5 separate regions of the Homo sapiens genome follow, and all the other regions are linked to region 1. Evidence: promoter capture Hi-C in 16 types of primary human blood cells and fetal thymus (Javierre and others, 2016). All regions are on one chromosome and are shown on one strand. The core of a region is centred on a gene start or on the middle of the fragment in contact, and the rest is flanking DNA. Distances in the headings are between cores, read along the strand shown. Region 1 holds the start of HAS3 (hyaluronan synthase 3). Region 2 holds the start of WWP2 (WW domain containing E3 ubiquitin protein ligase 2). Region 3 has its middle 32 kb from the start of ZFP90. Region 4 overlaps ZFP90 (ZFP90 zinc finger protein). Region 5 has its middle 35 kb from the start of SMPD3.

Region 1 (6,009 bases), core at 2,861-5,360:
CCACCACCATGACCACCTTGAGGTCAGGGAAGGAGATGCGCTGGGCCGAGCGCAGGCACTTGCGCAAGTAGTCAGGGTCCTCCTGGTATGCGGCAATGCACAGTGCCACCGAGCCCCGCCGCGGGGAGGGCAGCTTCAGGGCCTGGCCGGCACGTCGCATGCGCCGGTGCTCCAGGAAGGCAAAAAGGCTCTGAATGAGCAGGTGCAGGCCCAGGATGGCGCCGTACAGGCCGAAGGACAGGTAGTGCTTTTCCGTGTGGATGAACTGGTAGCCCGTCACATAGGCTGCCAGGATGCCACCCAGCACTGCCAGGGCAAACAGGCTGGTGCCCACCACACGCAGGGCTGTCGTCAGCTGCACCGGCATCTGGCGAGAGAAGGCAGGAGATGAAGGGTCAGGCAGGAGGCAGCATTTCCAGTCCGTGGGAGCATGGGTGTTCTCTGTTACTAGTGGACATGACCCACTGATCAAAACCGTTACCGCTTACTGAGCATAAGACTTGGTAGACTCAGAAGCCAGACTACTGGGGTTCAGATCCCAGCTCTGCCACTTGATGTCTGTGCCCCCTTACGTCATCTGTAAAATGTGGGTTGCAGGACTAACCTCAAGGCATCTTTGAGGGTTAAATGGGCGACACATACAAAGCCCTTAGTGTAGCACTGGGGTAGACAAGCCAAGGCCCAGAGGGTCACGTGACATCTGGCTGGTGGGTGGCAGAACTGGGCTCTACCTGGCCCAAAGCGCTGAAGAGGTAAGCTTCAAGGGGGTGAGCCTGAGGCAGCTCTGGGCACCTGAGGGCCAGGGAGGCAGCCAGTGGCCTAAGAGCTTCCCCCTACCCTGCACCCACTCCTGGAGGGGATATTCACCAGTAAAGTGCAGCCACCAGTAAGACCCAAGAAGAAAGTGCAGGAGCAAAAGAAACAGCAAACAAAGGGGCATTGGGAAAAAGCAGCAGCTTCCCTTTCTCAAGACAGTTATTAGAGAAACTTTCCCTGTGTCCTCCACTTTCTCACCTTTTACTTGAGAGGCAGGAAAGAAAGGGAAAGCAGGGGGAGAGGCAGACCAGGAAATGCAAGCTGGGGAGTGGACAGCCTCCTAGAGCCCAGGGCTGAAGAAAGCACAGGGAACTGCAGCCACCACTGCAGCAGCCTCCACAGTGGCTGCCTGGGCATCCCATCCGCTTGGTCCTAGTGCCCGTGCAGCATGCGTCTCTGTGCGTGTCCCCCTGCCCAGCCACTCCTGGAAACAATGCCCGGTTTCCATTTGCAACTAAGTCAGGGCTCCTAACATCTCCCCTGTTGGAAACAGCTGTATTTTATAACAGCCCAGGACTTGGCACTAGAGAATTGGGTTTAAGACAGCACTTCTGCCTCCTGGCTGCCTGACCTTGCCCCAGTTCTCTGAGACTTGGTCTCCCCATAGCACAATGGGAGTTCTAATGGATTCCTGCCTCATGTCTCAGGTAAGTCATTTCCCTAAAAATGGAAACACTTCCGGCCCCGAAGAGCTACCCTAGTGGTGAGGGTGACTGTGGTTTCCTCCAGAGCAGGTGGGGAGGGGGATGTGAGGGAGGGGAAAGAAAAGGTGGCAAGGATGGCTGCCGGCCTTCCCATTCTGACCCACACTATCTCCTCTCTGCCACCTGCCTGATCTAGAGAACCCCATGTTCACTGAGGTCTACAGACAATGATGCCTCGCTTCCAAGCTTGCTCCAACTCTTAGGTCTCAGGAAACGGAGCCCCCAAAACAAACACACTTTCCTGTCGGGACGCCTCTCACGTAGAAGGGACGAAGAACACGCAGTCACTGCCTAAATCGACCTGAGACTCCGGCACTAGCAGCCTTCCAGCAGCGTTGGCCCGAAAAGAGCTGCTGGCAGCCTAGCCTCTCCGGGAAGCGCGGCCTCCGGGCGCTCTGCCCCACCGTCCCGGGGAGCCCGCCGTGTGCTTCCTTCACAGGACTCCCAGCCCTCCCTGTTGCCACCCTACTGCTCGCGCCTGCGGCCCAGGAGTCCCCAGGCCTGCATCCGCAGCCTAGGAGCGCCCCCATTCCCCTCCGGAGCTTACATGCTGAAGGGGCGCGGCGGGACCCCCCTGCCTGCCTGCGCTCTGGGTAGGGGAAGGGGGCGCCAAGGCCAGCCCAGCAACCTGGGCGCTGGCGCCCCGCCTCGGTGCAGTGCCGGAGGCGGCGCCCACCAGGTCAAAGCAGCCGCGAACGCACTCGCCACGCTTCTCATCCCCGCTCGAGCCTCGCCTCTTGGCAAAGGCGGCGCCGGCCACACCCACGTGCCGCTTTCCCACGACCCAACCGGGAAGGAACGGAAAACCCAAGGGATCCCAGTCGGACCAGGCCCTGCTCTTCCTGGTACCCCAGCTACCTTGGCAAAGTGTGCCTGTAGACAAAGGCGCATCCCCGGTGTAGCCGGCCCTCTCCTTCCCTGGGCGGGACCCCTCCCCCGCAGGAATTAGAGGCATTACCCAGGTTACTACCCCCACCCCCAAATAGAGGCCCCCAAAATGTCCCTCAGCCAGATACCCCACGTGCAATCAGGCGCTGGTGCAGGCTGTGGTCGAGGTTCTCCTGCCCAGACCTGGGGCGGGGGGCTGTGTCACCCCAAGCCGGCAGAGGCTGTGGGGTGATCCTACAGCCTGGACCGCCGCCTCCTCATGCCCTTCGCTCATCCACGGGAGCCCAGCCCAGGCAAACTAACGCGCACTCGGCTTTCAAGGGCACAAGGTTGGGGGCGCTCTCAAGTCCGGCTCCCAGGACTACGGAAGGAGAACCCCCAGTCAAGGACGCACGCTTCTCCATCAAGCCTCCGAAACTTTGAGGGGCTGCTGGTGTGCAGCGTCTCTCCCGCTGACAGGTGCGCCCCGCGGCAGGGCCACACGCAGCGGCATGGAAACTTGTGCGCCCAACGGGGCTCCTCCTCTTGTGCCCGGCCGCCCTCCGGGCCCCTCCAGGCCGGCCAGGGGAGGGGAGCCCACTCCCCCGGACACGTGCTGCCGCGGCCCGGCTAACCCGCAGGAACGTGGGCGCCTGGTACCTTGGTGCCCGGACAGGTGCAAACCCCCGGGAGGTCGTAGAAGGTGCGGGGGAGGGGTACCCCAGCCAGCCTGGAGCCCCGCACCGGCGTCCGCCTCCTAATTCATTCACAAAACAGGAGCCGCCGGGGAGGAGGGAGGCGAGGCTGGAAGAGGAGAGGATGCAGGAAGAAAGGGAGGAGGGGTCAGTGGGGAGGGGGCTGCAGGAACGGCCGCCGGGAAGCCCGGGGCTGCCGCCGCCCCCAACCCGCCTCCCCGCGCCGGACGCGGCGCCCGCAGGGCTGGGAGCTGGCCGGGTGCGGGGGGCTCGGCGAGAGGCACCCCTGCCACCCGGCGCGCCCCGGCCTCGGCGCAGCCCCGCGCGGCCCTCCCCTCCTGGGTGCCGGCCGGCCCGCGCTCACCGTGCCGCCGGCTGCCGCGCTCCGGAGCTCAGCAGGCCCGCGGCGGCTCCATGCCCCTCCTCCCGCTCCGCTCCGCGCCGCCGCGCGCTCCGACTGCCGCCTGCCCAGCCGAGCCGCCCTTAAGTACCCGGCGCGTGCCCGCCAGGAGAGGCGCCTCCCCCGGCCCTGGGGCCGGGAAAGTTGACCAGAGTGGGAGGGCCCCCGCGGGCGCACCCCCGACCCCGCGCGGTCCCAGGGAGCGCCACAAGCCAGCGCTCGGCGGGGACGCCTAGTCCCGGGTGGACGCGGCTCCGGCTCGCAAGACTCGCAGCCCCTGCGCCCTCTCCGAAGCTGGGTCCCCCGAGTGGGGCCGAAGGCCACGCGGCTCTGCAATCGCCCTGGGACCAGCTGCCAAGGCAAGACGGTCATTGGGCTCAACCTAGAACCTGAAGCGTCGTTAACTTTCCAGATACCACGCAGGGACTTCCAAAATTGTTACTCTCCCTCCCCGCCCCCACGCCCCGCTCTCTAACCCGCAAAACCTACTCACCCTGCAAGGAAGGCGAGCTGAGAGCACTCTTCCCCGACTTCTGCACGCGAAGGGGCAGTTCGCTGTCTAGGGGGCTCCCGAAAGCCAAGGCAGCAAAACCTTCCTGCTGGCAGGAAAGAGGCGCTGAAGAGAATTGTCAAATGTAAAAAGGCTGGTCAAAGAAGGTGTTAACAATTGTGACAGCTTAGCTTTGAATTCCGCAGTGGGGCGCTGATGACTTTAAGGCGGTTTGCAAAAGCTGCAAACGGTTTTGTAGGAACCTTGGAGGTTCCGGTGTCTTAAAGCCAAAACAATTCCTCCTCTTCTTTTTCACACCTTTATTTCCGACATCCATGACCTCCTAAATTCCCAACTGACCTTATCGACAGTAGTTTTCAGGTCCCTAAAAGATAGTGCTAGACTCGAGTAAAGTGAGATGAAGTGAGTTGGGGTGCACTGGGGTGGGGTGAGATCGAGGAGGGGGGAGAGTTGTTAGCAGAGACAAGAAGTTTAGAACCAGCTGAAGGCGATGAGTTTTTACATCTCAGGAAAACTTGAAGAGAAATTATAATTAATAACTAGTTTTTAAAAAATGAGTGGCCGGGCGCCGTGGCTCAAGCCTGTAATCTCAGCACTTTCGGCGTTACGGGCACCATGCCCGTAATCCCAGCTACTCGGGAGGCTGAGGCAGGAGAATCGCTTGAACCCCGCAGGTGGAGGTTGCAGTGAGCTGAAATCGCACCACTGCACTCCAGCTTGGGCAGCAGAGCGAGACTCCGTCTCCAAAAAAAAAAAAAAAAAAAAAAAAAAAAAAAACCAAAAAACAGAGTTTACCTGTTTTCCAAATACACCTGATATAATTTCTATCACTTCTTCCCAAGCTGCAACAAATTTATAGGCACCTGAGCTGCAGTCTATAAACTTCTCCTCTCGCAAGTTTTAGGGGCTCAGGGACTTGCCTGCCCACCATTGCTCAGTCTGGGCCACAGACCTCACACCTCAGTCCCCGCAGGCAAGCAAAGACCCCAGGCACACCTACTCCACACAATCCCATCTTACATTATTGGCCAGGCACAGTGGCTCACACCTGTAGTCCCAGCACTTTGGGAGGCTGAAGATGGAGGATCGCTTGAGGCCAGGAGTTCAAGACCAGCCTGGGCAACAAAGCGAGACTTCCCCCGTCTCTACAAAAATTAAAATTAAAAAATTAGCCAGGGCCGGGTGCAGGCTCACGCCTGTAATCCCAACACTCTGGGAGGCCGAGGTGGGCGGATCACGAGGTCAGAAGTTAGAGACCAGCCTGGCTAATATGGTGAAACCCTATCTCTACTAAAAAATACAAAAATTAGCCAGGCATGGTGGCACGTGCCTGTAGTCCCAGCCACTGGGAAGGTTGAGGCAGAAGAATCGCTTAAACCCAGGAGACAGAGGTTGCAGTGGGCCAAGATTATGCCACTGTACTCCAGCCTGGGCGACAGAGTGAGACTCCATCTCAAAAAATAAAAATAAAAAAAAAAAGAAAAAGAAAAGAAAAGAAAAAAAAAAAAAACATTAGCCAGGCATGGTGGAGTGTGCCTGTAGTCCCAGCTACTAGGGAGGCTGAGGCAGGAGAATTGCTTGAGCCCAGGAGGTCAAGGCAACAGTGAGCTATGATCGAACCACTACACTCCAGCCTGGGTAACAGAACAAGACGCTGTCTCAAAAACAAATTCCTGGACTCCAGCAGCCCTTCCGCCTCAGCCTCCCTAGGAGCTAGTCCTATAGGCATGCTATCCAGCCCAGCTGCCAATGTGTTTTGAACTTCAGATGGCCTGAGGGGCCCTACCAGAGCCATTCCTACTTACACAAAGATGGAGAAGAAGCCTTAGGTTGGTGGAGGGGAGGGCTCTAGAGTCTGCCAGTAAGCCCCAGTGTCTTCATCCCACAGATGGGATTGCTAGGCGGACTGATAGGAAGTTTGAAGAGATTGGCTGAGGGTAAGCGCTCAGCAAGTGTTAGTAAACCAGACAGCAGCATCCTTTGCCCATGCCACGGGTTCTACATGGCCATCCCTCT
Region 2 (5,498 bases), core at 254-2,753, 660 kb before region 1:
TGTGACTTTTAGAAATGCATTTATTCACCAAATATTTATCAAGTGCTCACAACATGCCAGGCACTAGGCTAGCAGCCAAATAAAATATGAAACCTGCCCTTGAAGGATTTGCAATCTAGCAGGAAGAGGCCAGCAAACAAGAAAGAGCAATAAATTGTTTTAAAAAATCAAGTCGTCTCTCGTAAGTCTGTTTGTTCCCTGTGAAATGAGAATACATCTTCCCAACCTCACTCATAGGCGCTGCTGCAAAAACTAATTTTTAAATGTTTGTCAAATAACTCCAAAAACTTGAACTCATAATACATTAGGAAAGTACTTTTTCCTACTTGTAACCCAAAACGATGCTGGCTGCTGTGAATGTCCAGTTTGAACATTCGTTCCAGTTACACTGCACTCATGAAACTCCTTTTGCTTCTGCAAATTTTAGTAAACATGAGAAACAGGAAGATGAACAGGCTTTAACACAAGTATTCAATCTCAAAATCATGATCCAGGTCACAGTTCTAAGGAACATAACACAGACCTCTCAGGCACCCTACCTAGTTACAGTTCGTCAAGATAAGCAGTCACAAGATAAGCTAAGGGAAACTGAATAATTTAAACGGAAGAAAGAGAAAAGTCATAAAGCAGTCTAGGTAGACACTTCTCTGTCCAAGATTTCAGCAGTCACTATGTTGCTGAGGTAACGCTGGGCTAGGTCAACAGTGTAAGCTAAAAGCCATTTTACAGGCAAAGTGCCCACACTTATTTTTTTAATTTATTTTCTTTTTTTGTTTTTTAAAGCCTCGATGATGGCCCGTTCAGGGAAAATCTCAAAGAAAAATGAGCTGAAGGGCTAGGCTCCCAAGAAGTGGAAACCCTACCCACGCAGGACTAAGTGGGCGCGAGGGAAGCAAGACGATCAAGATTCTGTGATCCCTCCTGAAGTTTAAAAACTGAATGGGACCGTCATCAAAGTCTCGGGTAACAATCATTTCCAAACAGGAAGGAAGGGAGAGACTCTCAGAGGGGGTCCAGGCAGCATCTTTTTCCCTCTGGCTCCACGCCATAAACCCATTTTCAGGCACCCCCTTCCAGCTCAGTTCCAAGTCGCCCCTTCCCCTGGTCCCGATCCCTCCACAAAGATCGCTCCTCTCCATGCCTGGGAACCTAAGCTCCTCTCCCCTTCCGGGAGGACTCGCTCCAGCTGCACCCTTGGCGGCCGGGGCACCCATTTCGGAGCAACCCCCGCGCGGGCCGCGGCGCGCCCACCCCACTCGGGCGGGAGCCGGGACACCCCTCCTCGGAGGCCGGAACCGCCGCGCCAGGCCCCTCCCACAGGAAGCCGCCGCCCCCCGACGCCCGGGCCGCGCCGCCCCCGGCCCACCCCGCGCCGCCCGCCGCCCCCGGCCCGCCCCGTGCAGGCAGCCAGCCCACCGCGCCCCCCGCGCCAGCGCTCGCTACCTGCCGTGGCCACAGAAGCGGCGCCGAACTCCTCTCCTACTTCCGCCTTCCACCGCCCGCACTCGGGCCGGGTCACGTGACCGCGCGCGGTCACCTGACCCGGAAGAGGCTGGCCAGGCTCGCAGGTGCGGGCCACCTAGGCCTGGCCTGGGCACCTCTGGCCTCGAGGAGGCCTTTTTATCGTCTCTGTAGTTGAAAGTGGAAGGGTTTCTGCTCACCGGATGGTCCCAGGCAATCAAATAAATTGAGGGCTCACTGAATGCCACCTACTCTGCCCATCAACCTTATAGAGGCAGGGACAGGTACTAGCCCCATTTTACAGGTGAAACGAGACCTTCAGACTGTTAAGTCAGCAAATACTTAATTGAGCTCCTTTAGTAGGGTTGCCAGATAAAGTACAGGACACCCACTTAAATTTGAATTTCAGATAAACAACAGTGTAATATGTATGTCCCAAATACAGAATGGGACATATTTATACTAAAAAAAGTATTTTTTGATTATCTGAAGATCAAATTGAATTGAGTATCTGTATTTCTATTTCCTGGCAACCTTATGCCTATTATGTGCCAGGCACTGTTCTAAGATCCAGGACCACAAACATCTCAGCCTTTGTGGGGCATCTGTCCTTGTGACATGAAGCAAAAGTACAAAAGCTTAAAAACTCCTGCTTGGCTCCATAAAAAGCCCCTCCACACTAATCCAATCGCATTCCCTTAATCTACAACTACAGGGCACAGAGAACTTAATGAATTATAATCCAGGTAGGTAGGTAGGTAGGTAGGTGGATAGATAGATGATATTTTTTTTTTTTTTTTTGAGATGGAGCCTCGCTCTGTCGCCCAGGCTGGAGTGCAGTGGTGCAGTCTCAGCTGACTGCAACCTCCGTCTCGCCGGTTCATGCAATTCTCCTGCCTCAGCCTCCCGAGTAGCTGGGATTACAGGCGTGCACCACCACGCCTGGCTAATTTTTGCATTTTTAGTAGAGACAGGGTTCCTCCATGTTGACCAGTCTGGTCTCGAACACCTGACTTCAAATGATCCGCCCACCTTGGCCTCCCAAAGTGCTGGGATTACAGGCATGAACCACCGCACCTGGCAGAGAAATATTTTTTTTAAGAGATGGGTCTGGATAGGTTGCTTTGGCTGGGCTCGAACTCCCAGCTTCAAGCAGTCCTCTTGCTTCAGCCTCCCAAGTAGCTGAGACTACAGGCGAATGCCACTGTGCCTGCCCAATAACTTTATTTATTTATTTATTTATTTATTTATTTGCTTGCTTGAGACAGAGTTTCACTCTTGTAGCCCAGGCAGGAGTGCAGTGGCTCAATCTTGGCTCACTGCAACCTCTGCCTCCCAGGTTCAAGCAATTCTCCTTCCTCAGCCTCCTGAGTAGCTGGGACTACAGGCACCCACCACCATGCCTGGCTAATTTTTGTATTTTTAATAGAGATGGGGTTTCACCATGTTGGCCAGGCTGGTCTCAAACTCCTAACCTCAGATGATCCACCTGCCTTGGCCTCCCAAAGTGCTCAGATTATAGGCGTGAGCCAATGCGCCCGGCCTCCAAGAACATTTTAAATAGACATTCTTGACTGATGTTCTGGACAAGTTGAATGAAGGCTCAGTTTAATCACCATTGATTAAAATTAATACTAATGACGTAATTAGCCTCAAAGACTTGTACTAATCTGTTATTTTTGGGTCTTCGAATTGGGATGGATTCTATCATGCATACAAATTAAATTGGCTGGTGGGGCGTGGAGGCTCACGCCTGTAATCCCAGCACTTTGGGAGGCAGAGGCAGGTGGATTACCTGAGGTCGGGAGTTCGAAACCCACTTGGCCAACCTGGTGAAACCCCATCTCTACTAAAACTACAAAAAAAAAAAAAAAAAAGATTCGCCGGGCATGGTCCGGGTGCGGGTAATCCCAGGTACTCCAGAACCTGAGGCAGGAGAATTGCTTGAACCCGGGAGGCGGAGGTGGCAGTGAGCCATGATAACGCCTCTGCACTCCAGCCTGGGCGACAGAGTGAGACTCTGTATCTAAATAAATAAATAGGTTGAACACTTAGTCTCTACTTTTTGTAGTACCACTCCAAATCCAAGAGATTAACTTTCAAGGAGATACAGTCCTGTCTTTGTACATTAAACCCTATATTAGTCTCATTTATAAAACTACTATAACTAAAACTTCTCCAGTTCCATTGATGGCAGTTTTACTAATTCTGTTCTAGATAAATTAGAGACTATTTCCTTGACTTACTAGCATTTGTTGGTTTCGGTTTGTTTTCTTCTTTCATATTTCATTTTTTATCTTTTGTTGCTTTTTTTTAACAACCCTGCAGAAAAGATTTAGTGGCATCTGAGTAAGTGTTCACCAAAGGGGAGAAGGGACAAGCAAAGAGCACACACTGCACATTAAAAGAATAAAATCTGACAGGGTGCGGTGGCTGGCACCTGTAATCCCAGTACTTTGGGAGGCCAAGGCGGGCAGATCAGACTGTCAGGGGCTCGAGATCAGACTGGGCAACATGGTGAAAACCCATCTCTACAAAAAATACAAATATTAGCTGGGCATGGTGGCACACACCCGTAGTCCCAGCTAATCAGGAGCCTGAGGCTTGAGAATCGCTTGAACCTGGGAGGCGGAGGTTGCAGTGAGCCAAGATTGCACACTGGACTCCAGCCTGGATGACAGGGTGAGACTCTGTCTCAAAAAAAAAAAATTGATATGATAAACTAGAAAATGAGAAATAGCCTCCAGCCATACTCTGTTACGGCAGGTAGCACAGGCACGTTCTAGATAATGAAGAGACTGAGTGGTGAGAAAGGTTGAGCCAGGTGCAATGGCTCACGCCTGTAATTCTAGCACTTTGGGAGGCCAAGGCAGGTGGATCACCGTACATCAGGAGTTCGAGACCATCTGGCCAATATGGTGAAACCCCATCTGTACTAAAAATACAAAAATTAGCCAGGCGTGGTGGCGGGCACCCATAATCTCAGCTACACAGGAGGCTGAGGCAGGAGAATTGTTGAACCTGGGAGGCAGAGGTGGCAGTGAGCTGAGATCGCACCACTGTGCTCCAGCCTGGGCGACGAGAGCAAAACTCAGTCCCCTTCCCGCCACCCCAAAAAAAGAGAAAGACTGAATTTGGGTAATTGCTGAAAGGCAATATTCAGTAGCACTGAAGGATTTTTGGGGTAGGACAGATAAATGACAATTGAGGAATCCAGCTGGCGTGAAGACTTCATGAAGAAAGTTTGCATGAAGACCCAAGTCGACATTCAGCAAAATTCACCGGATCTTATAATCATAAAATTTCAGATTTGCAAGGAAACGTAGAAGTCACTAAATACACCTTCTGTTCAATTCAGCAAGGAATTATTTGCTACCAAATTATGTGTGTTGCTTAGGGAGGTGGGGTGAGACTATTAAGACAAATTAGACAGACTCTGGCCCCACGTTGCTCAAAATGAAGTGAAGGCACATAAGCAGCAGTCAGTATAACAGAATGGATAATTAGGTGGCTCAGGGACAGCACCGTGTCTCACACCTGTAATCCCAGCACTTTGGGAGGCCAAGGCTAAAGGACTGCTTGAACCTGGGAGTTTCAGACCAGCCTGGGCAACATGATGAGACTCTCATCTCTACAAAAGTAAAAATGAAAAAACTAGCTGGGCATGGTGGTGTGGGCCTGTGGTGCCAGCTACTCGAGAGGCTGAGGTAGGAGGCTCACTTGAGCCTGGGAGTTCAAGGTTGCAGTGAACTATGATCATGCCACTGCACACCAGCCTGGGCAACAGAGAGAGACCGTGTCTCAAAAAAAAAAAAAAGAAAGAAAGAAAGAAAGAGAGAGAGAGAAAAGGAAAGGAAAGAAAAAAGAAGAGAAGAGAGAAAAAAGTGGCTCTGAATCAGTTTGTCTGGGTGTTACGTTATTTTCACCACTTACTGACCATGTCAGCTACACCTAGTGGCTTTAGTTAGCTATCCCTTGTCTGTAAAACAGTACCTATCTTGGCCGGGCGCGGTGGCTCACGCCTGTAATCCCAGCAC
Region 3 (5,282 bases), core at 1,834-4,333, 600 kb after region 1:
CCAGATCCGAGTGCGTCCTCTTGGTCCACGAGCCTCCTCCCTCTCCCTTACCCAAGGACAGTGAGCTGGAGCGCGGGCGGCTGGACGCGTAGCGCAGCCTTCGCAACGGGTCTTTTTTCGTCCCACTTTTTATGGGACCTTGGGCTTCCAAACCGACGTTGGATGGTTTGTCAGCGGATACTTTCACCGCCCACAGCAAACTTGCAGAGCCAAGCGGGCTGTTCTCCGGAGGCTCTCGGAGGACGCCCCCTGCCAGCTGCCGGCATCTGGGGGAGAGGGACAGCATTTGGGGTGGGAAATGAAGTTCTGGTTTTGCACATTTACTGGCCTACACTGGCGTCTCACTGTGACCTAGAAACTGGAGATGGAGGCTAGGGGTGGGAGTTGAGGAGCCAGAGGCTGTGGGGCGGGGGTTCCCACTGGGATCGGTTGGTGGGGTCACCAAGCAACAGCTCCCCATCAGGCAGAGGCCTTAGACGGCAGCATCATGGGCGACGGATGGAGACCATGGGATTCAGGGGCCTGAGAGGGAGGCAATGGGATGGCCACAGAATGCAGCCAGAAATGAAGGGACAAAGAAATCCCTGGGGCTGCAGACCAGTGGCCTCTGTGGTGGCCAAGGGTGAGGGAGACACAGGGCGCTAGGTATGGCAGAGGTGCCACCCTAAAGGCCAAGACTGTACAGGGCTGGACCTGGCAGCACCCGGAGAGGGACCAAGGAAGTTTGTGATCTGGACGATGACATAGGTCGTTCTTACCCATCACAGTTACCCAAGATGAAGGGAGGTCCCTGAGCTGAGAAAAGGGCTGGGCGCCTGCCTGTAATCCCAGTGCTTTGGGGGGCCGAGGTGGGAGGCCAGGAGTTCAAGCCTGCAGTGAGCCATGATCATGCCACTGTACTCCAGCCTGAGTCACAGAGTGAGACTCTGTCTCTAAAAAAAAAAAAAAGAAGAAGAAGAAGAAGAAAAAAAAAACAGACTGGGCGTGGTGGCTCCAGCCTGTAATCCCAACCCTTTGGGAGGCCAAGGCTGGCAGATGGCTTGAGCCCAGGAGTTCAAAACCAGCCTGGGCAACATAGTGAGACTCTGTCTCTACAAAAAATGCAAAAATGAGCCGGGCGCAGTGGTGTGCACCTGTGGGCCCAGCTACTTGAGAAGCTGAGGCGGGAGGATGTTTTGAGCCTGGGAGGCTGAGGTTGCAGTGAGCCAAGATCGCCCATTGCACTCCAGCCTGGGAAAAACTGGGGAGAGAAAAAGTGAGCCAAGCCCCAGAGCAAGGGCTGGGAAGGGAGAACAGCAAGCAGGAGCCTCAAAAACTGGGGCGGTGGGGACGGGGGGTGTGAAGGGGGTGGGATTGTTCAAAGGCACAGGAGCAGTGGTTTCCAGGGATACTGGGGGGTCTGGAGAAGGGACAGCAACTCCCAGGAGATGTGGGGAAGCTGTGGCCAGCAGGGGACAGCTGCAAAGCAGGAGATGGAAGGCTGAGGATGTGTCTGTAACAGATGGCCCCTGCTTTCCAGGGCGTGGAGGACAGCACTTGGGGAGTGGGTGAGAAGACAGGAGACTTCAGTGGGTGGGAGGACAAGATGGGGTGACCAAGAGTGTGAGGGTGGAAGTCTGGACAGGACCCTGGGCTCATCACATGGGCCTCCGGGCAGAACCAGGGCAGCAGAGCCTCCACTCACAGCCTGGACACCAGCCTCTCCTTGGAAGAACCCATCTCCTATTAAGAACCCTGTGGCACAGTGGATCATGCCTGTAATCCCAGCACTTTGGGAGGCCGAGGTGGGCGGATCACCTGAGGTCAGGAGTTGGAGACCAGCCTGGCTAACACGGCAAAACCCCATCTCTACTAAAAATGCAAAAATTAGCCGGGCATTCTGGGCGCCTGTAATCCCAGCTACACGGGAGGCTGAGGCTGGAGAATCACTTGAACCTGGAACCTGGGAGGTGGAGGTTGCAGTGAGCCAAGATCGTGCCATTGCACTCTAGCCTGGTCGACAAGAGCGAAACTCCATCTCAAAAACAAAAAACAAAAAACAAAACCAACAACCCTGCACTATGACGGGTCCTTAAGGAGTGAGTCATGGGCTCTCACTGCACACCAAGGAGCCCCACATGTGAAAATGCTTCTAGAAACATTGAGTGCTTGTAAAGACCTACTGCTGGGCATATTGGCCCTATTAGAGGGAACATTTTATCACACGAAGGCACAGGTAGGTTGTTTCATGGTAATTGCTTTCCTAAACCATAGAGAAAAACGCATCACAAACCCAGCACAGTTAACTAAAGTGGTCACATTCCTCTTCTTTGATTTAAAGCTATTTAGAAATATTAGCAACTGACTTTGCCTCCAGGTTGTCGGTGCTTTTTTTTCTCGACTGTAACTTTTTCTTTTGAATCCCATGAAATATCCTGAGTACACCAGGAGGGAGGAATGAAAATATGTTTGCATTTCCAGCTCTGCAGCCAACTGCTACTCAGACAATACCCTCAATGTGTAACCTGGGAGTTTAATATTCTCAAATATTTATAATTACGCAGAAACAGCCCGAAGAAATGTTCAGCTTCTTCACAGCTGGATAATTATCTACATTCAATGTTCACAACCTCAGAGCTGCTTCTCAGAGTTTGGGGTGCCTCTCTGCCACTTGGGCATGCAGAGTACATGGGTTCTGTGGGCAGATTCCTAACGGGGCATAGAAGTGGCATGGGGAGATCCCATGCCAGCGTGCTCTCTCTCTCTCTCTCAAGAGTCCTGCTCTGTGGTACAGGCTGGAGTGCAGTGGTACAATCATTGCTCACGGTAGCCTCGAACTCCTGGGCTCAAGCAGTCCTCCCACCTCAGCCTCCCGAGTAGCTGGGACCACAGACGCATGCCACCGCACTTGGTTATTATTTTTTAAAATTTCAATAGGTTTTGGGGGAACAGGTAGTGTTTGGTTACAAGGATATGTTCTTTAGCGGTGATTTCTGAGATTTTGATGCACCCATCACCCAAGCAGTCTACACTGTACCCAATGTGTAGTCTTTTATCCCTCACGCCTCTCCCATTTTTTTTTCGGACTAATTAAAAAAAAATTTTTTTTTTCGTAGAGACGAGATCTTACTTTGTTGCCTAGGCTGGTCTTGAACTCCTGGCCTCAAGCAATCCTCCCACCTCAGCCTCCCAAAGTGCTGGGATTACAGGGGGAAGAAAGGCTCAATCATTCCCAGCAAATTCTGTAATGGACCCATGAATAAAGTCCTACATTGAAGAGTCCCTGCGGAAGTGTCTCATGGAGTCCCAGATGCTCCCCACAAAAGGATGCTGTGGTCAAAGCAGCGCTGCCTCTGTCTGCCTTTGGAGAGGCACCATGCATTCTGCTATTCATACATTTTCTCCTTGCCTGGCATCTCTCCTGCTGCTCCCTCTGTTCCACGCATATTTCCAGAAGAATATCAAGAAAACTATTTTTCCTGCATAATTACCCGCCTCCTCTCCACCCACCTCCACACATCTTTTCGGCTTTGACGTGGCAGCTGCTCTGATTTCTTTAAGTGGACTGCATTCTGCATTTACCAGGCAGGTGGAATTCTATGAAGGGAGCCTCCAGCCGAGGCTGGGAGTGAGGGCCCTGGGCATGATCATCCCTCCCTGCACCAGACCTGCGGCTCCCCTGTCTGCATTGAGGTCCTCCTTCCCACAGTCCCTGGGGCACAAAGCTATTGGTTCCTGAATGAGTGTCACCAACCAACTGCCTGGTCCTCCTTCTCCCAAGCCCAGGCTGCCTCAGTCCTGACTCTGTGACCTGAAAGGAAATTCCTCTTTAGTGAGATCAGCTAGCATCTTCTCAGTTGTAGCTTTCAGAACAGTAGACCCAAACTAGCACAAACTAAAGAGAATGGGCTGTCCCATGGAACCAAACAGTCTTGAAGCCCCAGCTGAGGTTCAGGCGGGGCACTGTCGCTGCTGCTCTGGAATTCTTTCCACCTGCCTGCCTTGGGCTATGGGCTTCATCTCCAGGCCAGCCATGCCCAACACAGCAAAGGGTTCAAAGATGTGCCAAACCCTGGTTCACGCTCTGACTGCCTGGAAGAGCCAGCAGTTCCTTCTCCAGGTGGCTTCTACAAATTATCAAGAAAGCATCTTCCCTTGCTGGGTGTGGTGGCTTACACCTATAATCCCAGCATTTTGAGAGGCTGAGGCCGGTGTATCACTTAAGGTCAGGAGTTTGAGACCAGCCTGACCAACATGGCAAAACCCCATCTCTACTAAACATACACAAATTAGCTGGACTTGGTGGCAGGCACCTATAATCCCAGCTGCTTGGGAGGCTGAGGCAGGAGAATTGCTTGGACCTGGGAGGCAGAGGTTGCAGTGAGCCGAGATCATGCCAGTGCACTCCAGCCTGGGCAACAGAGTAAGACTCTGTTTCTAAATAAATAAATAAGAAAGCATCTTCCCAGGTGCCCATCAAAAGTCCTGTGGGTCTTATTGGTCCCAATTGGGTCTGGTGCCCATCCCTTAGCCAACCACTGTGGCCAGGTGGCTGGGACATGCTGATGAATGTCAGTCTATCAAGGCCTGTCCCTGAAGCTGGGAGAGGGTGAGAAGTCCCTGAGCTGTATGGGGGAAGAAAGGACACCCAAATCAAATGTGGAATACTGGACCAACGGAAGTGGGAATGGACAGCAGAAGATCTTGGAAGTGAATGTTCACTTCTCTGTGTAACTTGCAATTGAGTCCCCTCACCTTCTGCCTCTGAGAAGCAAAGACCAACCTCTTTCTTTGTGCACCTCAAGAGGCAGTTTTCTAAGCAGGGTCCTTGCCTGTCTCGTGGACTTGCTGTATCCCCAGCACCAAGGACACCGACTGGCCAATGAGGTGCTCCACCAGGATGAGCGGATGGAAGGAACCCAAGAGAGGAAGAAATAGGCATGCTTGCCTGCAGGTGGCTTTGGGGCTCTGGATAGATAGAGACAGCCCTGGGATCCATGGAACCGTCTGGATGAAGGGCCCAGGACCCAGAGTGACACATGTCTTCTTCCACAGGCCTCACTCTAAGGTGGCCGGGAAGAGAGCTGTTACCAACAGAAGTGTGGATGCCTGTCACTTAAGTGTTTCACTGCACGGGTCTGCGGGAATCATTCAGTAAGATTCTAGAAGCATTCATGGGACATCTATTCATGCCAGGCCCGGGCATGGGCACTGCAGAGCCCACAACAAGTGGACAAAGCACAGCTAGTCTCTGCCCTGCAAGGGCACACCTGGCAAAATCAGGTCCCCACAAAGCCAGGACA
Region 4 (6,084 bases), core at 697-3,196, 560 kb after region 1:
ATCACGCCACTGCACTCCAGCCTGGGTGACAGAGCCAGACTCTGCCTAAATAAAAAAACAAAAACAAAAACCAAAAAGCAACGAACAAAGTTATTAAGAAGTATCACATGTTCCAGACAGGTGCAGTGGCTCATGCCTGTAATGCTACCACTTTGGGAGGCCAAGGCGGGTGGATCACCTGAGATCAGGAGTTTGAGACCAACCTGGCAAAACCCTGTCTCTACTAAAAATACAATTAGCTGGACGTGGTGGCGGGCACCTGTAATCCCAGCTACTTGGGAGGCTGAGGCAGGGAGAATTGCTTGAACCCAGGAGACGAAGTTTGCAGTAAGCCAAGACTGTGCTACTGCACTCCAGCCTGGGCAACAGAGCAAGATTCCGTCTCCAAAAAAAAAAAAAAAAAAAAAAAGGATCACATGTTCCCTTTCCTTATGCTGACATACAAGGATCTTGGCCAAATGGTTGAGCCCAAAGCAAGGAACTAGGAACAGCATATACTAAGTTGAGAAGACTCAATTTCATGGGCTCCTAAAAAGCTCCATAATGAATAAATGCATAATATCCTTGAGTAGATCTCACACCTCCTGGAGATCCAATTACCTCATCAATAACATGAGTTCCCTGAACTACAGAAATAAAGAGTTTTATGAGCAGATGGGGTGAAAGGGCACTTCCAGAAAGGACATGTACAAATACAGTTTGCCCAATCAGAAAACATCACATTTACGGCAATACAGTGTGGTATCTCCACTTAAGCACTAAGTGGCCTCTGATACCAGATTGATCATAGTTTAACAAGCCGATAGTTGACCGTGTAACTAACAATGGTGTACAGAGAGAAGAACATCACTGTCAACCTTTGCACACACACAGATTCCTACTGCATCACCATCTGCAGTATTGAAGACTGGAAACCTGGACCTCCTCCTTGACTCTTCATTTTTCCTTTATGCCTTGCAGTCACCAAAAGCCTCAGAAATGTCTCCTGAATTCAGTCCCTTGCCTTCATCCTTCAAATCCAGCTGAAATCCTCCCTTGCTAATGACAGCATTAATCCAGGGAATGGCAATCTACAGCCACACAGTCTAATATGGCAGCCACTGGCCACATGTGGCTATTCATTATGTTTTTAAATTAAGGATTTAGATGTTCACCCAATTACAAACTGGTTTTAAATGCTAGGAGGAAAAGAAAAAGAGCAGACAAACTTAAAAGTCACACTTGCAATGTAGCTAGTCCAAATGGGCATGTGTGATTAAGCAAAATACACACTGGGCCAGGCGCAGTGGCTCACACCTATAATCCCAGCACTTTGGGAGGCTGAGGTGAGTGGATCACCTGAGGTCAGGAGTTTGAGACCAGCCTGGCCAACATGGAGAAACCTAGTCTCTACAAAAATACAAAAATTACCTAGGTGTGGTGGCACATGCCTGTAATCCCAGGAGGCTGAGGCAGGAGAATGGCTTGAACCCAGGAGGCGGAGGTTACAGTGAGCCAAGATTGCGCCACTACACTCCAGCCTGGGCGACAGAGTGAGACTCTGTTTCAAATAAATAAAATAAAATAAAATACACACCGAATTTCAAAGATTTACTATCAAGGAAAGAATGTAAAATGCCTCATTAGTAATTTTAAAACATTTATCACATGTAGAGATGATAATATTCTGGATATATTGTTTTAAATAATATTTATTACTAAAATTAATTTCACCTGTTTCTTTTTATATTGTAGCCACTAGAAAACTTAAAATTACACATGGAATGTGTATTTCTTTGGCACACCACCGTTCTACATTGTTCTAGGTCTCCACCTCAGGCCATCTTTCTCTCAAATGCTGCCTCCTGTCATATACCCAAAGCTTCTGCCACATGGACTCTTTGGCCCAGTAACAACATTTTCTTTTGTGTTTCTTTGCCTTTATACATCCTATTCTGACCATAATGTACTTTCTTCCCTCAGTTCCACAGGAAAAATTCCTAGTCATCCTTGTAGAACCAGTTCACTGTTCCATTCCCTCCTGAAGCTTCCCCACATCCTCCGTGCTCCCCATCCCCCTTCAGCATTTGGTCCCCATCTCCATTTCAGAACCGTAGCCATCTAGTTACATTTTTCTCCCTCAAGACTTTTTTTTTTTTTTTTTTTTGAGATGGAGTCTTGCTCAGTCGCCCAGGCTGGAGTGCAGTGGCACGATCTCGGCTCACTGCAAGCTCCGCTTCCCAGGTTCACGCCATTCTCCTGCCTCAGCCTCCCGAGTAGCTAGGAGTACAGGCACCCGCCACCACGCCCAGCTAATTTTTTTTGTATTTTTAGTAGAGACGGGGTTTCACCATGTTAGCCAGGATGGTCTTGATCTCCTGACCTCGTGATCCACCTGCCTCAGCCTCCCATAGTGCTGGGATTACAGGCATGAGCCACCGCGCCCAGCCAAAAATTTCTTAAACTCCTTTTCATTTCAGTATCTCTGACACTGCAAGTGGAGAGTGTCCAGAATCACCTGGGCAGCTTTTCTAAATTGTCCATGCATGGAGGGTCTTGCCCAGCATCTTTTAAAAGCTCCTCAGGTGGTTCATTATCAAAGAGCAACAGCTCAGATTTCTTGAACACTCGCTGCTAGGCAAACACTAAACTCAGTCATTTACGTGCACTCTCACCACATTTCCTCACTGAAGCCTTGTCACCACCCCAGAGGAAGCAGGCACCACTTCCTGACTGGTTCTGAAGCATGACCCTGGTTAAGAACCACTGCCTGGCATAGAGCAAGCATTCCAAACACGTCTGCTGAGTGAATGGATACAGAATCTGGGTAATTCTCAATGCAGGAAAATGAGGAGTTGTTTCGAGGATTAAAAAAAAACACATGGGTTAGTGAATTAAATTCTTGGATTATAAAAAACAGAGGCAAACAGAAAAACGATGGCATTAACAGCCAAATCTAAGGCTGGTTCCTCTTAAGCACCAGCCAAATAGAAAAACCTCTGATAAATCGAGTAAGAAGAAATTTTTAAAAGATGAACTTAAAGATAGGAGGATAAGGCTGGGCACAGTGGCTCATGCCTGTAATCCCAGCACTTTGGGAGGCCGAGGCGGGCGAATCACCTGAGGTCGGGAGTTCGAGACCAGCCTGACCAACATGGAGAAACCCCATCTCTACTAAAAATACAAAATTAGCCGGGTGTGGAGGTGCATGCCTGTAATCCCAGCTACTCAGGAGGCTGAGGCAGGAGAATTGCTTGAACCTGGGAAGCGGAGGTAGCGGTGAGCCGAGATTGCGCCATTGCACTCCAGCCTGGGCAATAAGAGCGAAACTCCGTCTCAATAAAAAAAAAAAAAAAAAAAAAAAAAAAAAAGGAGGATAAACAGAACAGTGAAATATACACACTAGTGTGTTAAGAAATGCAAAAAATCTTAACAAAAAACTTTTAAATTCTAAACTACCAATGTTTACACAAAAAAGCAGAAACCTTTATAATTGAGGAGGAAATAGAGAAAATTGTTGCCAAAACATCTTGTCTATAAAAATCCTGAGTCTAAATGTTTTATAGGTAAATTCTTTCAAAAGACAGAAAAAGGTGAAAAGCAATCTGAATGTTTCTACAAATTAAGGATAAGCATGACACCAAAACCCATCCAAGAGAGTGCTTTCTCTCTGGTGGCTATTTCCCTTAGTAATACAGATATTAAAAAATGATCAACTGGGCCGGACACGGTGGCTCACACCTGTAATCCCAGCACTTTGGGAGGCTGAGGCAGGTGGATCACTTGAGGTCAGAAGTTCGAGACCAGCCTGACCGACATGGTGAAACTCCATCTCTACTAAAAAATCAAAACTAGCCAGACATGGTGGTACACGCCTGTAATCCCAGCTACTTGGAAGACTGAGGCAGGAGAATCGCTTGAACCCAGGAGGCAGAGGTTGCAGTGAGCTGAGATTGCCCTCTAGCCTGGGCAACAAGAGCAAAACTCTGTCTCAAAAAAAAAAAAAAAAGAGAGATCAACTGTATTTTGAAAAACTTATGTATTACAACCAAGTGGAATTTTATCCCAGCATTATGTATAATAGTAAAAATTTCAGAAACAACCTAAATGTTCTCTGAGAAATGGCTAAATAAATTTTGGTACATTCATACAAAGCAATATAATATAGTCATTAAAACTGATTTTAAACAACAACAAAAATAATCCTCATAAAATTTATATGAAATTTAAAATACATTGTAATTAAAAATGTTTAAGGGGAAAAATATGCATAAGGAGAAAAGAAAATTCACCAAAACAAATACAGAGGTCCTAAGGAAGAGGGATCATAAATGACTTTTTTCTATTAAAAAGTCTAGATTATTAAGCAAGTAATACCCAGAATATATAGAGAACTCCTAAAAATCCAACAAAAAACAATTCAAAAATGTGCCAGGAACTTGAATAAACATTTCTCCAAAGAAGATACACAAAGATGTTCAAGAACACTAATTATTAGAGAAATGCAAATCAAAACTACAATGAGATATCACCTCACACTGGTTAGGATGGCTACTATCAAGATAAAACAGAAAATAACAAGGGTTGGGGGGATGTGGATAAATTAGAACCCTTTGTGCACTGTTAAGAATGTAAAAAGATACAGCTGCTATGGAAACAGTATGGTGGTTCCGGAAAAAAATTACCGTATGACCCCGCAATTTCTCTCTGGGTATATAACCAAAAGAATTTAAAGTCAGGTCTCAAAGAGATATCTGTACCCCCACGTTCAATAGTTCAATGCCTCATGTTCATGTTCAGTGCCATAGCAGCATTATTCACAATAGCTAAACATGTAAACAAAGCAAGTGTCTATCAATGGATGAATGGATAAGCAAAATGGAATTGTATTTAGCCTTAGAAAGGCTTTTATTTTAAAGCACTGTATTCAGCCTTTAAAAGAAAGTTCTGATATATGCTACGACTTAGATGAATCTTGAAGACATTATAATAAGTGAAATAAGCCAGCCACAAAAAGATATACTGTGTGATTTTGGCCAGACGTGGTGGCTCACGCCTCTAATCCCAGCACTTTGGGAGGCTGAGGTGGGCAGATCACTTGAGGTCTGGAGTTCGAGACCAGCCTGGCCAACATGATGAATCCCTGGCTCTACTAAAAACACAAAAATTAGCTGGGCGTGGTGGCGCATGCCTGTAGTCCCAGTTCTCAGGAGGCTGAGACAGAACCGCCTGAACCCAGGAGGCTGAGGATGCAGTGAGCCGAGATTGCACCACTCACTCCAGCCTGGGTGACAGAGCAAGAATCCGTCTTAATAAAAAACAAAACAAAACAAAACATACTGTTTGATTCCACTTATATGAGATAGAGTAGTTAAAATCATAGAGATAGAAAGCAGAATGGTAGTTGCACGGGCTGAAAGAAGAAAGAATGAAAAGTTATTGTTTAATGGATTGTAGAGTTTTCAGTTTTACAAGATGAAGAATTTTGAAGATGGGTAGTGGTGATGGCTGCATTACATATGAATGTATTTAATACCACTGAACTGTACACTTAAGATTGTCTTATGTGTATTTTATCAAAATTTATAAAAACTGACAAAGATTATATCAAAGGTAAAAAGTCTCTAATATTATATATGCTCACATACTTTAATAAAATATACTTTGTTTTGAGTCAGAGTCTTGCTGTGTCGCCCAGGCTGGAGTGCAATGGTGCAATCTCAGCTCACTGCAACCTCCACCTCCCGGGCTCAAGCAATTCTCATGTCTCAGCCTCCCAAGTAGCTGGGATTACAGGCGTGTGCCTCCACACCTGGCTAATTTTTGTATTTTTAGTAGAGATGGGGTTTCACTATGTGGCCCAGGTTGGTTTCGAACTCCTGGGCTCATGCAATTCGCCTGTCTCGGCCTCCCAAAGTGCTGGGATTACAGGTGTGAGCCACTGTACCCGGCCATAAGATATACTTTAACAAAAGTAATACAACACGGAAAAGTAAGGAAAAGAATCTTATTTTTGAAACAGTTATTTTTTGAGACGGAGTCTCGCTCAGTCACCTAGGTTGGAGTGCAGTGGCGTGATCTCTGCTCACTAAAAGCTCCGCCTCC
Region 5 (6,043 bases), core at 220-2,719, 620 kb after region 1:
CCATCTCTACTAAAAATACACACACACACACACACACACACACACACACACACACACAAATTAGCTGGGCGTGGTGGCGAGCACCTGCAATCCCAGCTACTTGGAGGCTGGGGCAGAAGAATCACTTGAACCCGGGAGGCAGAGGTTGCAGTGAGCCGCGATCGTGCCATTGCACTCCAGCCTGGGCAACAAGAGCAAAACTCTGTCTCAAAAAAAAAAATTCATCTATGCATGTATACAGGTAAAATGGCCAAAGTGCTGCATTTGATTGGAAAATGGCTTCATTCTATAATATATTCTCTAATGATTTAGGATCAGAGGACTTTTCATTCTTCCAGACCTGGGCTGCTCTGTGGCCAATACAGTGTTTTCCAACCTGCTCCTCGTCCCAACCTGATTCTGAAACCTAGAAGGACTTCTCTGGACTGGGAACTTCCGATGTACACTGTTAGAGTGGACATGCCCAGCCTGCCTGGCCAGACCTCACCTTCCAGGGATGTCATGTAAGGGCCATGGGGACAGAAATGACTGCAGTAAGCTCAGGGAAGGACAGGAGGCTCCCTAACCAATACCAAATGAGGCTGAGGGGACAGGAGGCTGCAGTGCCAGCTGACCCTGAGTGTTGGGAACCTTTGCTGGGGAGAGAATGGCATCCACATTCTCTCATTAAAACCCTCTGATGGGTCAGGTGTGGTGGCTTATGCCTGTAATCCCAACACTCTGGGAGGCCGAGGCGGGCGGATCACTTGAGGTTAGGAGTTCGAGACCAGCCTGGCCAACATGGTGGAACCCCGTCCCTACTAAAATACAAAAATTAGCTGGGCGTGGTGGCCTGCACCTGTAATCCCAGCTACTCAGGAGGCTGAGGCAGGAGGAGAATCACTTGAACCGGGGAGGCAGAGGTTGCAGTAAGCCGAGATCGTGCCACTGCACCTCAGCCTGGGCAACAGAGCGAGACTCCATCTCAAAAACAAACAACCAAACAAACAAAACCCTCTGGTGTCAGGGAGGGCTATGGTGACCCTGGCCAGGTGGTGGGTGGCCAGGTGGGGGACTGTAATGGAGGCGATGGAGAGGTTAGAACTGACTCTGGGAAAAGCCTGCACTGCTCCCAGGAGACCCTTATTCTAGCTCCCCACAGTGCAGAGGAGCACCCTAGCTTTCTGGTCTGGGAAGCTGTTCCCTCCAGGATGGACACATACCACTGGCTTCTAGATCCAAGCAGGAGGGTTTTCCCTAGAGGCCTGGCTCACAAGCCAGGCTACCCCAAGCCACTTGCAGTTAAGCCACCCTCACAAGCCAAATGGCGGCACTCCCAGGGATGCTGCGGTGCAGAGGCCATGGGTCTAGGCTCCCCCAGGGGCCCTTCCTGCTCCCCGGCACTGGTACTGTGATCATATGCCTCCCCTGCCATTGGCATCTGGCCCAGCTTGGTTGAGCTACAGGACTCCCATCTCCAGGAGCAAACATTTAGCTGGTACCTCAGAAGTTGAAAAAGGATGAAGAACTCTGGGCATTGGCACTCGAACCTCAGCTGCTGCTGTAACCCAGACCTTAGGCCGGATTGGATGACTAGGTTTCTGTTTTATCCCAAGGACCCAGCCCCACCAGGCAGTAAGAGGGAAGAGAACTCATGTTCATTGAGTGCCCTATGTGCTGAGCACTGTGCTAGCCCCTTTACCTTCATTTCCTCATTTAATCCTCCCAACCATGCCATGAGGTAGGCAAGGCTGAGGTCCAGAGAGGGGAAGTGACCTATTTGAGGTCACACAGCAAGATCTGCCAAGCTCTGTTTTACAGGATATAATTGTTGAAAACAACCAAAAATGCTGGATAAAACATGAAAAACACCTTGTTAAAAGCAATGAAGAGCTGGCAAGAGAAAAAGGAATAAGGTCAGAATCTAAGGAGAGGTAAGAACCTAGACAAGTAGGAAGCACTGAAGTCATTTTGGCTATGTGGGTGTTTGCTGATATGCAAGTGAGAACCTCAGGTTTTTGTTGTTGTTGTTGTTGTTTGATATGGAGTCTTGCTCTGTTGCTCAGGCTGGAGTGCAGTGGCACGATCTCAGTTCACTGCAACCTCGACCTCCCAGGTTCAAACAATTCTCATGCCTCAGCCTCCTGAGTAGCTGGGATTACAGGCACATGCCACCATGCCCGGCTTTGTATTTTTAGTAGAGACAGGGTTTCACCATATTGCTCAGGCTGGTCTCGAACTCCTGGCCTCAAGTGATCCACCCACCTCGGCCTCCCAAAATGCCAGGATTACAGTCGTGAGCCACCGCGCCCAGCCAAGAACCTCAGTATTAATGATCTTGTGGGCCAGTGTGATAAATGTCAAAACTCAGGGCCTGTCCCCAGTGGGGAATCTATCAGGAGGCTCTCCTAGTTTAAGCTGGCACCCTAACAGGTCTCCCTACCTTGGGAATGCAAGAGAAGAGGGGAGGAGTTGTCACTGAGATGTAACCACAAGCTGGCCATCACTTAGATTGGCGGCCCAAGTTCACGTCATTTGCGTGATTCATAAAACCTCTGCTCATGAATTTAAAGTACCCTTGGGGCCGGGTGTGGTGGTTCATGCCTGTAATCCCAACACTTTGGGAGGCCAAGGTGGGCAGATCATTTGAGGCCAGAAGTTCAAGACCAGCCCGGCCAACATGGTGAAACTCCGTCTTTACCAAAAATATAAAAATTAGTCGGGCGTGATGGCATGTGTCTGTAATCCCAGCTACTCAGGAGGCTGAGGTAGAAGAATAGTTTGAACCCAGGAGGCAGAGGCTGCAGTGAGCTGAGATTGTGCCACTGCACTGCAGCCTGGGCAACAGAGCAAGACCCTGTCTCAAAAAAAAAACATAAAATAAAATAAAATAAAAAAATAAAGTACCCCTGGACTGCTAATGCCCCTGTCACCTGGCAGAGGGACCCATCAATCCTCTCTGGAGAGAGGCATATTCATCCTAGGCCTCAAGAAGTACCCACCAATAAGTTTTCAAATATACTCAGTGGTATATAAGCCCCAAATAAGCCAGCTACACAAGGAAACACTGAGAATCAGCAGAAACAACAGACAGCAGACATAGACCTACAACAACTTCAGATCATGGAATTATCCAGCATCAATTAAAAAACATACTTAACATGTGTAACAAAATAAAAGACAAGCTTGAAAATACCTGTAGGGAGTAGGAAACTATAAAGAGTGACCTAACAGATTTGAGAAGGAAGCAAATTTTCAGCAGACTTGAGAAAGGGGTATATTTTTCAGAGGTGAAAAATATATCATAAATGAAATTTTAAAATGCAGTGGAAGAGAGTTTGTGAGCTGGCAGATGGTTTAGAAAAAAGCAGTGGAGGCCAGGTGTGGTGGCTCATGCCTGTAATCCCAGCACTTTGGGAGCACAAGGTAGGCAGACCACTTGAGGTCAGGAGTTTGAGACCAGCCTGGCCAACGTGGTAAAACTCTGTCTCCACTAAAAATACAAAAACTAGCTGGGTGTGGTGGCGGGCACCTGTAATCCTAGCTACTTGGGAGGCTGAGGCAGGAGAATGACTTGAACCTGGGAGGTGGAGGTTGCAGTGAGCTGAGACCGCACCGCTGCATTCCAGCCTGGGAGACAGAGACTTTGTCTCAAAAAAAAAAAAAAAAAAAAATTAGCCAGGCGTGGTGGTGTGGGCTTGTAATCCCAGCTACTAGGGAGGCTGAGGCATGAGAATCACTTGAACCTGGGAGGCAGAGGTTGCAGTGAACCAAGATCACGCCACTGCACTCCAGCCTGGGCAACAGAGCAAGACTCTGTCTCAAAAAGAAAAAAGCAATGGAAAACAGCACAGAGAGACCAAAAGACAAAATATATGGAAGAAAAGTTAAGAGACGTGGAAGAGATCAGCCTATGATTAGTGGGAGTTTTAGGAGGAAAGGAGAGGGAGAATGGAGAGAGGCAATATGTGAAGAGATATTGGCTGAGAATTTTTCCAGAATTGATAAGACACACCATTCATAGATATTAAGAATCCTAAGGAATTCCTAGCAGGATTTTTAAAAAAGAAGAAAAGAAAGAAATACATATTTAAATGTGTATCGTAAATTGCAGAATACACACACATCACTCACATATGAGAGAGAGAGAGAGAGAAAACCAGAGGGAAAATGTCAGTATACCTTAGACTAACAGCTGATTTGTCAACCTCCACATAGAAAGGTAGGGAGGGATGACCTGACACCCTAGAATTCTTTATCCAGTGAAAATATCTTCCACAAATGAGCACCAAACAAACACATTGTCAGAAAAACAAAAACTGAGAATTTATAATTAGGGAACTCTTATTAAATGATATTCTAAAGGATGTACATTAGGTGGAAGGGAAGTGATCCCAGATGGAAGATCTAGGACGCAAGAAGGTGTGAGGAGCTACGAAACTGGTAAATACGTGGGTAGAGCTAGGCAAACGTGGACTATATAATATAATAATCATTCTAAGGTTTTCTGAAGTTACAACAAAACAAGAGAGAATGAAAGTACACAGAGTCAAGACGGGGGGGAAACAGTTAAAATGCTTTAAGGTCTTGCATTACTGAAGAGGAAGGTAAAGTGATTGAGTAACTTTAGACTTTGATAAGTATGCATGTGGTAATTTCCAGGGCAGCCACTAAAAAAAAAAAAAAAAGAAAAAGAAACACCATGTATAACTTTCAATTTGTAGAGGAGAAAAAAGATAATAAAAAAAATAATGCAAAAGAAAAATAAACAAGAAAAAGAGAGAAAAATGGCACAAAATAGGATAGTGGATTCAGGATCACATAGTTCGTGTGTGACAGAGCTGGGCCTTGTTCCCTGTTCCATGGAGCTTTGGAAAGTTGTCCCCTACCCCTAGAGTACCCCAACTGTCTCGTACCCCTAGAGTACCCCAATTATCTCCTGACACAGCCCTCAGCACTACTTGTCTACTGTACCTGTCCAAGCACCGCCAGGCTTCACACCCACCCCTTCCTCTGCTCCCCCCACGATGCTGGGATCCCTGAGGCCAGAGACTCAGACTACGGCAGGGGCTTATCCTGGGGAATGAGCTAATGGCTATGTGTGGCCCTCTTAAGTGTCTGTACTTCTGTCACAGTCACCTGGGTTTTGCCTAACCCTGTCTTGAAGTTCGATACTTGTCAGTACTGTTGACCCACATCCCCTTTCCTCTTTACCCCAGTTCTGCTGGTGCCTGGGTTCTGAACTTTTAAGCTCTCACCTGGGCCTTTGCAACAGCCTCACACCTGGTCTTCCTGACACCACCTGACTCTTCTGATCCACCCTTTAAGGCTGCTGAGGCATTGCTGCTATTTGGCTCAGATATGATCCATCCTATGAGAAGGCCAACAGAGTCTGAACAGACAACATTAACAATGATTATCTGTTGGGCACTTACTGTATGCAGGCACCTACTGTGCACATCACAGGCAGTATCTTCACTTACTCCTTACAGCTACCCCTTGAGTTGGTTTTACTGATGAGGAAACTGAGGCTTTGGGAGAGGAACAAACTTGCCCAAGGTTGTCCATATATGAAGCAGCAAAGCTAGATCTGCATGTCTGACTCAGAGAGGTCATGCCCATAAAGCATTAAGCTGGCTTTCAAGGATGTTGATAAATTGGTCCCAAGCCAATATCTTAGCCTCACCATCCCTATATTCACCTGTATTAGGCAACACAGGCCATTTGTTGTCCCCTGAGCATGCCCTGGTTGATCCCTACTCCCTACCTTTGCTCACACACATTCCTCCTCCTGAAATTTCCTTCTCTCATCTCTACCCTTCCAGAAGTCTTGTCCTAAATGTCTCCTCCCCAGGGAAGATCTCCTTCCTTTAGTGATTGTCAGAGCCTTGCATCACACTCAAGCGTGTTCATGTGTCACCTTCTCTAGTGGGCAGCAAGTTAACTGGGAGCCAAGACCAAGCCTGGTTCATTCTCAGCTCCTCAGAAGTGCCCCGTACTGTGCATGGCATGCATGTTTTCTGAATTCTTTCAATCCAGTTCACGCAGACAGGCAGAAGCTGCA

The links. The method cuts DNA at HindIII sites, captures the fragments that hold promoters and counts their contacts. A CHiCAGO score of 5 or more calls a contact.
Region 2: the fragment with the promoter of WWP2 here is called in contact with the fragment with the promoter of HAS3 in region 1 in 2 of 17 cell types (neutrophils and total B cells); the score reaches 7.7 in neutrophils.
Region 3: a fragment that was not itself captured here is called in contact with the fragment with the promoter of HAS3 in region 1 in 3 of 17 cell types (megakaryocytes, naive CD4 T cells and erythroblasts); the score reaches 7.0 in megakaryocytes.
Region 4: a fragment that was not itself captured here is called in contact with the fragment with the promoter of HAS3 in region 1 in 3 of 17 cell types (total B cells, naive B cells and activated CD4 T cells); the score reaches 8.2 in total B cells.
Region 5: a fragment that was not itself captured here is called in contact with the fragment with the promoter of HAS3 in region 1 in 1 of 17 cell types (erythroblasts); the score reaches 7.4 in erythroblasts.

The regions. Positions count from the first base shown.
Region 1 is chr16:69,103,754-69,109,762 of GRCh38, reverse strand. It overlaps HAS3 (hyaluronan synthase 3), which reads right to left and starts at 4,110. Exons shown (of 4, transcript NM_001199280.2): 1 at 3,976-4,110; 2 at 1-367. The coding sequence starts at 367. RefSeq lists enhancers at 1-400, 3,897-4,445 and a silencer at 3,484-3,763. The HindIII fragment of the contact is 7,234 bases long and covers 1,709-6,009 here.
Region 2 is chr16:69,758,337-69,763,834 of GRCh38, reverse strand. WWP2 (WW domain containing E3 ubiquitin protein ligase 2) reads right to left here and starts at 1,503. Exons shown (of 24, transcript NM_001270454.2): 1 at 1,444-1,503. RefSeq lists silencers at 1,027-1,076, 1,097-1,256, 1,277-1,416 and an enhancer at 1,120-1,698. The HindIII fragment of the contact is 2,162 bases long and covers 1-2,101 here.
Region 3 is chr16:68,505,003-68,510,284 of GRCh38, reverse strand. No RefSeq gene overlaps it. Among named protein-coding and RNA genes, the nearest start is that of ZFP90, 32 kb to the left of the region's middle. RefSeq lists an enhancer at 1,760-2,260. The HindIII fragment of the contact is 8,227 bases long and covers 1-5,282 here.
Region 4 is chr16:68,545,741-68,551,824 of GRCh38, reverse strand. The region is part of intron 2 of ZFP90 (ZFP90 zinc finger protein); the gene reads right to left. Among named protein-coding and RNA genes, the nearest start is that of ZFP90, 9.5 kb to the right of the region's middle. The HindIII fragment of the contact is 165 bases long and covers 1,864-2,028 here.
Region 5 is chr16:68,480,374-68,486,416 of GRCh38, reverse strand. No RefSeq gene overlaps it. Among named protein-coding and RNA genes, the nearest start is that of SMPD3, 35 kb to the right of the region's middle. The HindIII fragment of the contact is 3,395 bases long and covers 1-3,166 here.